Regions from separate parts of the Homo sapiens genome. Here regions 2 and 3 are each linked to region 1. Evidence: promoter capture Hi-C in 16 types of primary human blood cells and fetal thymus (Javierre and others, 2016). All regions are on one chromosome and are shown on one strand. The core of a region is centred on a gene start or on the middle of the fragment in contact, and the rest is flanking DNA. Distances in the headings are between cores, read along the strand shown. Region 1 holds the start of GCSH (glycine cleavage system protein H). Region 2 has its middle 17 kb from the start of SYCE1L. Region 3 overlaps NUDT7 (nudix hydrolase 7).

Region 1 (2,574 bases), core at 41-2,540:
AAAAAAAAAAAAGAAAATTGTTTTTCCCCTGCAATAATTGTGCTGAAGTAGCACAAATGGCCGAAACATTCATGGGCAGGTTTCCCAGTTATTTCAAGTCCGTTTGAGTTAGGGCTCATTTCAGCAAGCACACACATGAATGATCCAATACAAACTTTAGCAGAACTTCTGTTGAGTCCAGAAGACTTTATCTTACTTGTTTTGGGGAAATAGCTGAATCTTCAAAGTTATGATTGTTTTATCTAGTAAAAAAATCTAGATCTGGCGCTTTAATTTTTTTTTTTTTTTTTTTTTTTGAGGTGGAGTTTTGCTCTGTCGCCCAGGCTGGAGTGCAGTGGCGCGATCTCGGCTCACTGCAACCTCTGCCTCCCAGGTTCAAGCGATTCTCCTGCCTCAGCCTCCCGAGTAGCTGGGATTACATGCGCATGCCGCCACGCCTGGCTAATTTTTTGTACTTTTAGTAGAGATGGGATTTCACCGTGTTAGCCAGGATAGTCTCGATCTCCTGACCTCGTGATCCGCCCTCCGGCATGAGCCAACGCGCCCTGCCTGGTGCTTTAATTTTAATAAGCGCTTCTGTTTTAATTTTACTTCGGAGTTCTCAGTAACGGTCCATTTAGTAAACTAAAGGCCTCCCCATTTGGGGTCTCAACGATGCACGCAGATGGGAGATAAACTTAAGGCCACCGAGACGCTTAAGCGACACGTGCCTGGCTTCTGCAGCAAGCGGCCGACCTGCCCGCCGGACCCGCCGGGCCACCCCCGCCTCGGTGTCCCGCAGGCCTCCCCTCCCGGCTGCATGCAATCCCTAGGGCAAAGGCTACTCGCGGGTCCTCCCGCTACTTAAGGGGGAGAAGCGGCCGCAGAGCCAGGGATCCCAACAGAAATAAGAAGGGGGCAGGGTCCGCGCTCGCTCCGCCCCGGTGGCTCAGGAGCGGTGCCCCGGCGTCCTCCGTGTCCCGCTGGGCCCGGGACAAGCAGCCCAGGCGGGGAGGGAGCAGCCGCCCACGTGCCCGCCGCGCTTACCCGAGAGCAGAGCGGGTCCAGTGCGCAGCGTACGGACGGCGCCCACCCCCAGCTGCCAGGGCCTCGGCGGGCAGGGCGCGGCGGGTGACGGGACCGCGCGCAGGGTGCAGAGCAGGGCCCGCACGCTCCGCACCACTCGCAGCGCCATGTTCGCAGGGGTGCGGGGGTCGCAGCGCTACGCCTCGGCCACCCGCGCCGGGAGGCGGGGCGGGGAGGGGCAGTTCGCGGCCGGAGGGAGCCGGCTGGATGGAGGCGCGGAGGCGGTGCCGCGGGGGCGGGACAGAGCCTGACTGGGCAGAGCGTGGAGGGCGGAGACTCCCAGGCGAGGGGGCGAGGCAGGGTCTGATTGGCCAGCACGCGGAGACTGGGGACTCCAGGGCCTGGCGCGACCTCGGATACGGCGACGCGAAAGAGGGGCGTGGGCATGGGGAAGAACCTGAGGCCCGGAAGAGGCAGCACCGAGAGGCGGAGACTAGCGCGGCGGGCCTGGGTATGATTGGGCTGCCCGCAGGAGGGGGGCGGGGCCTAGCCCCAGACTGGGTTCCTTTCCACATGTGTATCTCTTTTACTGCCTCTGTCATAAGTTTTCAAAGGTGGTTTCACCACCTCACGAAGGAATTCAAGAACAAGTCGGAAAGTCGTGAAAGTACAGAGGTTTACTGCAAAGTACACACTGAAGAAAGGGCGGACTCAAAAGAGGGCCACACAATGGGGCTTGGGGTTTCCATCTTTATGGGTTTCTTTGAGAAATGGAATATACACAAAGGTTTCTGGAATAAGGTGGAGACTTGTCAGAACTGTGGTGCCACCCATTTTTACACCAAATATGGGTGTTCCCGGAATTGTTGTGGTGCCGGTGGGTGTGTGACTTAGTATGTTAATGAGTCCTAGGTGAAGCCTAGGTCAAAGCCACACCACGTTGGGTCCAGTTGGTTTTAGCCAGGTTGACCCACACCCTGGTTTTTCAGGGTCTTAGCCCATAGCTTGTGCAGCTATTTCAACAGTTTCCTTTTGTTAGACAGAACTGCAGCCTGGAAGTTTCTATTCTCCTTCAACTGCTCTGTAACGTTCCTGTCTCAAAGAGCCCCAGGGACCCCAAACAGGACCGGCAGAATCCAGAAGCTTACTTAAAAAGGAATAAAGACTTGTCCAAGGGTCATAAGTGGCTTCTTGGTGGAGACTGGACCCAAGCCAGTCACTAATGCAGAAATATTCAAAACGCAGAGAGCTGAGACCCAGTGTGCACAATTCCTTGTTTCATCGGCCAGCGGTGTGACCAAGGCCTTCCGAGAAAAGCCGAAGTCATCATCCCAATCCAAGAAGTCAGAAAAAAATTAGGTTCTGGGAAAAACCTCACCTTTAACACAGATTTTATGGAGTGGCCATGAGTCAGCAAAGAAATACTGTTCTGAAAAACACCTTAAGCTACACACACACCTTTAGTACTGTTACAGAAAGGGCTCCCAATCCAGACCCCAAGAGAGGGTTTTTGGACCTCATGCAAGAAAGAATTTGGGGAGAGTCTATAAAGTGAAAGCACGTTTAATA
Region 2 (2,574 bases), core at 34-2,533, 3.9 Mb before region 1:
TTGGCTTTTGATTTGCCCTGTGTTCTCCTGACTCAACTGACCTTCCTGGCAGGGCTACTTCTCCTTTCATTGAAATAATTGACAGCTGCCTGGGAAGTCTTCACTCACTTCCTGTAACAGCTTTTCTCAGGGCTTGCATTCAATTACCATAATTCTCAAGCTTCTTGGCTTGTAGTTCAGGTTCAAATGTGAATGAGCCTGGGGGAGCTCAGTGTTGCCAAAAGGCGGAAGGACATTCTTTTTATTATTATTATTATTTTTATTTATTTATTTATTTATTTTTGAGACGGAGTCTCGCTCTGTCGCCCAGGCTGGAGTGCAGTGGCGCCATCTCGGCTCACTGCAAGCTCCGGCTCCCAGGTTCACGCCATTGTCCTGCCTCAGCCTCCAGAGTAGCTGGGACTACAGGTGCCCGCTACCACACCCGGCTAATGTTTTTCTGTATTTTTAGTAGAGACGGGGTTTTACCGTGTTATCCAGGATGGTCTCGATCTCCTGCCCTCGTGATCCGCCCGCCTCGGCCTCCCAGAATGCTGGGATTACAGGCGTGAGCAACCGCACCCGGCCAGGACATTCTTGAAAAAAGTAAGCCAGAAAGAAACCCACTGAAAAACAGAGGAGTCAGAGGAGGGGCCCGAAGAGATGCAAACATAGCACATCCTGAGTAGCAAGCTAGACAAGGCATGGAAGAGAGAGTGGCCAAAGTGACTGCAGTAGAATCTCCCGGAGGATAATAATATTACTACCTAATAGAGCACACTAGTTAGCAGAACAGAACCCAGGGCCAGACTGTGTTTGTTAGAATCCCAGCTCTGCTGCATACTAGCTGTGTAACTTCAGGTTACACAGTTAGGTTACTTAAATTCCCTTTTTTTTTTTTTTTTTGAGATGGAGTTTCATTCTTGTTGCCTAGGCTGGAGTGCAATGGCGAGATCACGGCTCACTGCAACCTCCACCTCCTGAGTTCAAGGGATTCTCCTGCCTCACCCTCCCGAGTCACTGGGATTACAGGCGCCCACCTCCACACCCAGCTAATTTTCGTATTTTTAGTAGTGACGGGGTTTCACCATGTTGGCCAGGCTGGTCTCAAACTCCTGACCTCAAGTGATCCACCCGCCTTGGCCTCCCAAAGTGCTGGGATTACAGGCGTGAGCCACCCTGACTGGCCGTTCATAAAGTTTTGAGGACATGTAGCATGTTACGTTTCAGAGAATCAAAGGCATCCACCATTTCTTTTTTGATCTCTCAATTTTGTGTTCATTTAGATTTCAGACAGCAATCAAAACATCAAGTACAGGTGAATACAATCCCAGGCCACCTTTTCCTGGGAACCTGGATATTGAGCTCTTACTTTTCTCCATTCTAGGATCTTGTTAAGCAGTGATGCTAACCAGTGAGTAGAACAGTGAGAGGTCCGTGCATATTCTATTTGCTGATCTACCAGCTGTTTTAAGGGACTGGTCAGTGGCAGAATTAACATATTTGCCATACCTACAAAATTCACAAGTACCTAGACTTCATTTTCCATTTTCCTACAAAACTCAAACTCTGTTTTTGTGACCTATTACTCACCGTAATCCTACCCAGCATCTTTCTCATTGGAATCTTGAGTAACATTTACCCAAAGATTACATTAGTTCCATTCTTCTTCCTTTCATTATCAAGTCATTATTAGATGGAGATGATTTGAATAGCCTAGGTGCCTGTTTTTTGTCTTGTAGTCCTTCCTTGGTGTTAACTCTGAAATTAATTTATCTCTTTTTTTATTTTTATTTATTTATTTTTTGAGATGGACTCTCACTCTGTCGCCCAGGCTAGAGTGCAGTGGCACAATCTCGGCTCCCTGCAACCTCCACCTCCCGGGTTCAAGCGATTCTCCTGTCTCAGCCACCCAAGTAGCTGGGACTACAGGTGCCCACCAACACGCCCGGCTAATTTTTGTAGTTTTAGTAGACACAGGGTTTCACCATATTGGCCAGGCTGGTCTCAAACTCCTGACTTCAAATGATCCACCCACCTTGGCCTCCCAAAGTGCTGGGATTATAGGCGTGAGTCACCATGCCCTGCTAAAATTAATTGATTTCTTCCAAGTGTGTGCAGTCATGTTTTACTTCTGTGATCAGACCTATTTAAGAGTTATAAAGATTCCTTCCAATTGTATCTTATGAAAGCCAGTAGGCATTTAATGACCTTCTTTTCTGGAGTCATTGTCTTTATATTTTGTGCCTCATTTTTGGAAAGCCTGTTTTACTTTCCGTGTGTCTTCTTATTTCTAAAGTCTTATTAAACCTACATTATCTAAAATGCCCATTACCTATAAATTTCTCTTCCACTCTGAGATTAAATATCTTTCTCAGTGGTTACCTTTATATTTTTAGAACATTTTATTGTTTAAAAATCACAGTCAAAGCTTCAAAAAACATACACCCCAAAATATCCCAATTTCAGTATCCTACTACCCAGAGGAGAGCACATGGCTGTTCTTCCCCTTCTGGTGCCCACAGCACTAGCGAGGACCCTGCCCTGAAGAGACCACTTGCCCACCCTCCTGCCCACCATATGTTAAGTCACCGT
Region 3 (2,574 bases), core at 27-2,526, 3.4 Mb before region 1:
AACATAAGGGCCAGCTTAACAGAAGGTAGTCTTCTAACCTTCTAACCTTAACAATGACTTTTTCATCAAACCTGTCTTCTCTGAATATAATTATGGGTTTCAAAATTCAACTGTTGCATTATTGAAAAAACATTTTACCATACTTTATGTTTCAAAGAGAACCTGTGTACTAAACTGTGTGCTTAGAAGGTTTTTTTGTCATTTTCATCTTGCGAACAACCACGCAATTTAGATAGTATCATTTCTGTCGTGTTATTGAAAAATACACAGAGAGTCAGAAATGGCAAACTCCTAAATACACAACAAAGCAGAAACAGAGGCAGGACTATAAGCTTTTTACCATAACTCTGCTTGCTAAAATGTCTGTCTGGTTTGTTTTTATTTTAGAAACAGTTTGCTAGATGATGCTAAGGCCCGCTTAAGAAAGTATGATATTGGAGGCAAATATTCTCACTTGCCATATAACAAATACTCCGTCCTTTTGCCATTGGTGGCTAAAGAAGGAAAACTCCATTTGTTGTTCACCGTCCGGTCAGAGAAGGTAGGTGGACAAAAAATTTCCTGCCCTTAAACCTCAGGACATCAGAAGACCTCACGAGATTTTGTCACTTGCACACACTTTGATGCCAAAATTCTCAAAAGGGCTTTCAAAATTGTGATGTCAGAGGCATACAACCACAAGCCACAGGATAACATGGTGTTTCTTGGAGAAGGTTTAACAAGAAAATGAAGGAATTTAGCTAGCAAGCAGTTTAAAACGCTTTCACACTAGGGTTACCTAACCTTGGTGCTATTGGCATTTGGGGCTGAATAATTCTTTGGTGTGGAGGCTGTCCTGTATAATGTGGTGTGTTTACCATCATCCTTGGCCTCTACCCACCAGATGCCAGTAGCACACACAAACACAAGCTCACACACACCTTTGTCCCTTTGTCCAGTATGCCAGTAGCACACACACCACAAATGTCTTCAGAATTGCCTACTATCCTGGCAGGATTGGGGGTGCCAAATTGCCCCCCACCAAGGGCCACTGTTTTAGACTATCCCACCCCCAGTATAATGTGAAAATACTAGAGCATAGAAGTTAACGGCCTAGGCTCTAAAGCTAGCTGTCCACGTTGAATCCAGGCTCTCTCCTTGCCAGCTGTGACTTTGGCCTCGTTACTTGCCCTCTCTGTACTTCAGTCTTTTCACTTGTAAAATGAGGACAAAATATTAGTAACTGCTTCATACAGCTGCTATGAACATTTCACAGGGTAACAAATGTAAAGCACCTATATAACCCAGGTACTTGGCAAGGAAGAATTCAGTAAGTTTTAGCTGTCATCGTTAGTGTCAAGTGACCTGTCAGACATGACCTGAAGTTTTAAGATAAATGATGTCACTTTACAGAAATAATGGGCTGGGAATGGAGTTTCTGGCTCACCCCTTGTATTGGTCCATTCTTGCATTGCTATAACGAAATACCTGAGGCTGGGTATGGTGGCTCAAGCATGTAATCCCAGCACTTTGAGAGGCCAAGGTGGGAGGATCACGAGGTCAGCAGTTCGAGACAAGCCTGACCAACATAGTGAAACCCCATCTCTACTAAAAATACAAAAGAATTAGCCAGGCATGGTGGCACACACCTGTAATCCCAGCTACTCAGGAGGCTGAGGCAGGAGAAACACTTGAAACCAGGAGGCGGAGGTTGCAGTGAGCCGAGATTGTGCCACTGCGCTCCAGCCTGAGGAACAGCGAGACTCCATCTCAAAAAAAGAAAGAAAGAAAGAAAAAGAAATATCTGAGTCTGGGTAATTTATAAAGAAAAGAGGTTTCATTGAGTCATGGTTCTGCAGGCTGTACAGGAAGCATGACACAGGCATCTGCTCAGTTTCTGGAAAGGCCTCAGGGAGTGTACCATCATGGCAGAGGGGGAGCAGGAGCAAGAGAGAGAGCAGGGAAATACCACACACTTTTAAATGGCCCCGGATCTCATGAGAACTCACTCACTATCATGGGGACAGTGCCAAGATGATGGTGCTAAACCATGCGTGAGAAATCTGCCCCTGTGATCCAGTCACCTCCAACCAGACCCCACCTCCAACACTGGGGACTCCAGTTCAACATGAGATTTGGGCAAGGACAAATATCGAAACTCTACCACCCCCACACCCGTGAGCACAGTCAGTTTCCCTTGCTGTGGGGAACTTCCAAGGAAAAGCTGGTGAAGCAGTCATTTTAAGCTTATCCAAGTACAAAAAGAAAATAAGCCATATTAACAGGCTTTTTAAGCAGAATAATGAAAAGTATTTTGTTTAAAAAAAAAATGCCAAGGAATCAGCTGGAGTTTTGTGGACGTGGAAGTAGACTTGTGTGGATTGTGTTCGGTCTGAGCCAGGCAGAAATGCCGTGAACTCAGGACATGATAGAAATCCAGGTTCCAGGGGGAAATACTTAAATGGAAACCAGGGGACCAGTGTCTGTTCCCACCTCTGCCAATAAGCACAGGAGAAGCACTTACATATATTTTTTAAAATTATCAGATATGGCCGTGTGCGGTGGCTCACGCCTGTAATCCCAGCACTTTGGGAG

What was found. The method cuts DNA at HindIII sites, captures the fragments that hold promoters and counts their contacts. A CHiCAGO score of 5 or more calls a contact.
Region 2: a fragment that was not itself captured here is called in contact with the fragment with the promoter of GCSH in region 1 in 1 of 17 cell types (activated CD4 T cells); the score reaches 5.2 in activated CD4 T cells.
Region 3: a fragment that was not itself captured here is called in contact with the fragment with the promoter of GCSH in region 1 in 2 of 17 cell types (non-activated CD4 T cells and total CD4 T cells); the score reaches 12.3 in non-activated CD4 T cells.

What each region holds. Positions count from the first base shown.
Region 1 is chr16:81,095,105-81,097,678 of GRCh38, forward strand. It overlaps GCSH (glycine cleavage system protein H), which reads right to left and starts at 1,291. Exons shown (of 5, transcript NM_004483.5): 1 at 1,027-1,291. The coding sequence starts at 1,174. RefSeq lists silencers at 708-1,377, 1,528-1,627. The HindIII fragment of the contact is 7,249 bases long and covers 1-2,146 here.
Region 2 is chr16:77,214,875-77,217,448 of GRCh38, forward strand. No RefSeq gene overlaps it. Among named protein-coding and RNA genes, the nearest start is that of SYCE1L, 17 kb to the left of the region's middle. The HindIII fragment of the contact is 2,250 bases long and covers 159-2,408 here.
Region 3 is chr16:77,725,044-77,727,617 of GRCh38, forward strand. It overlaps NUDT7 (nudix hydrolase 7), which reads left to right. Exons shown (of 4, transcript NM_001105663.3): 2 at 388-541. Among named protein-coding and RNA genes, the nearest start is that of NUDT7, 3.8 kb to the left of the region's middle. The HindIII fragment of the contact is 1,893 bases long and covers 331-2,223 here.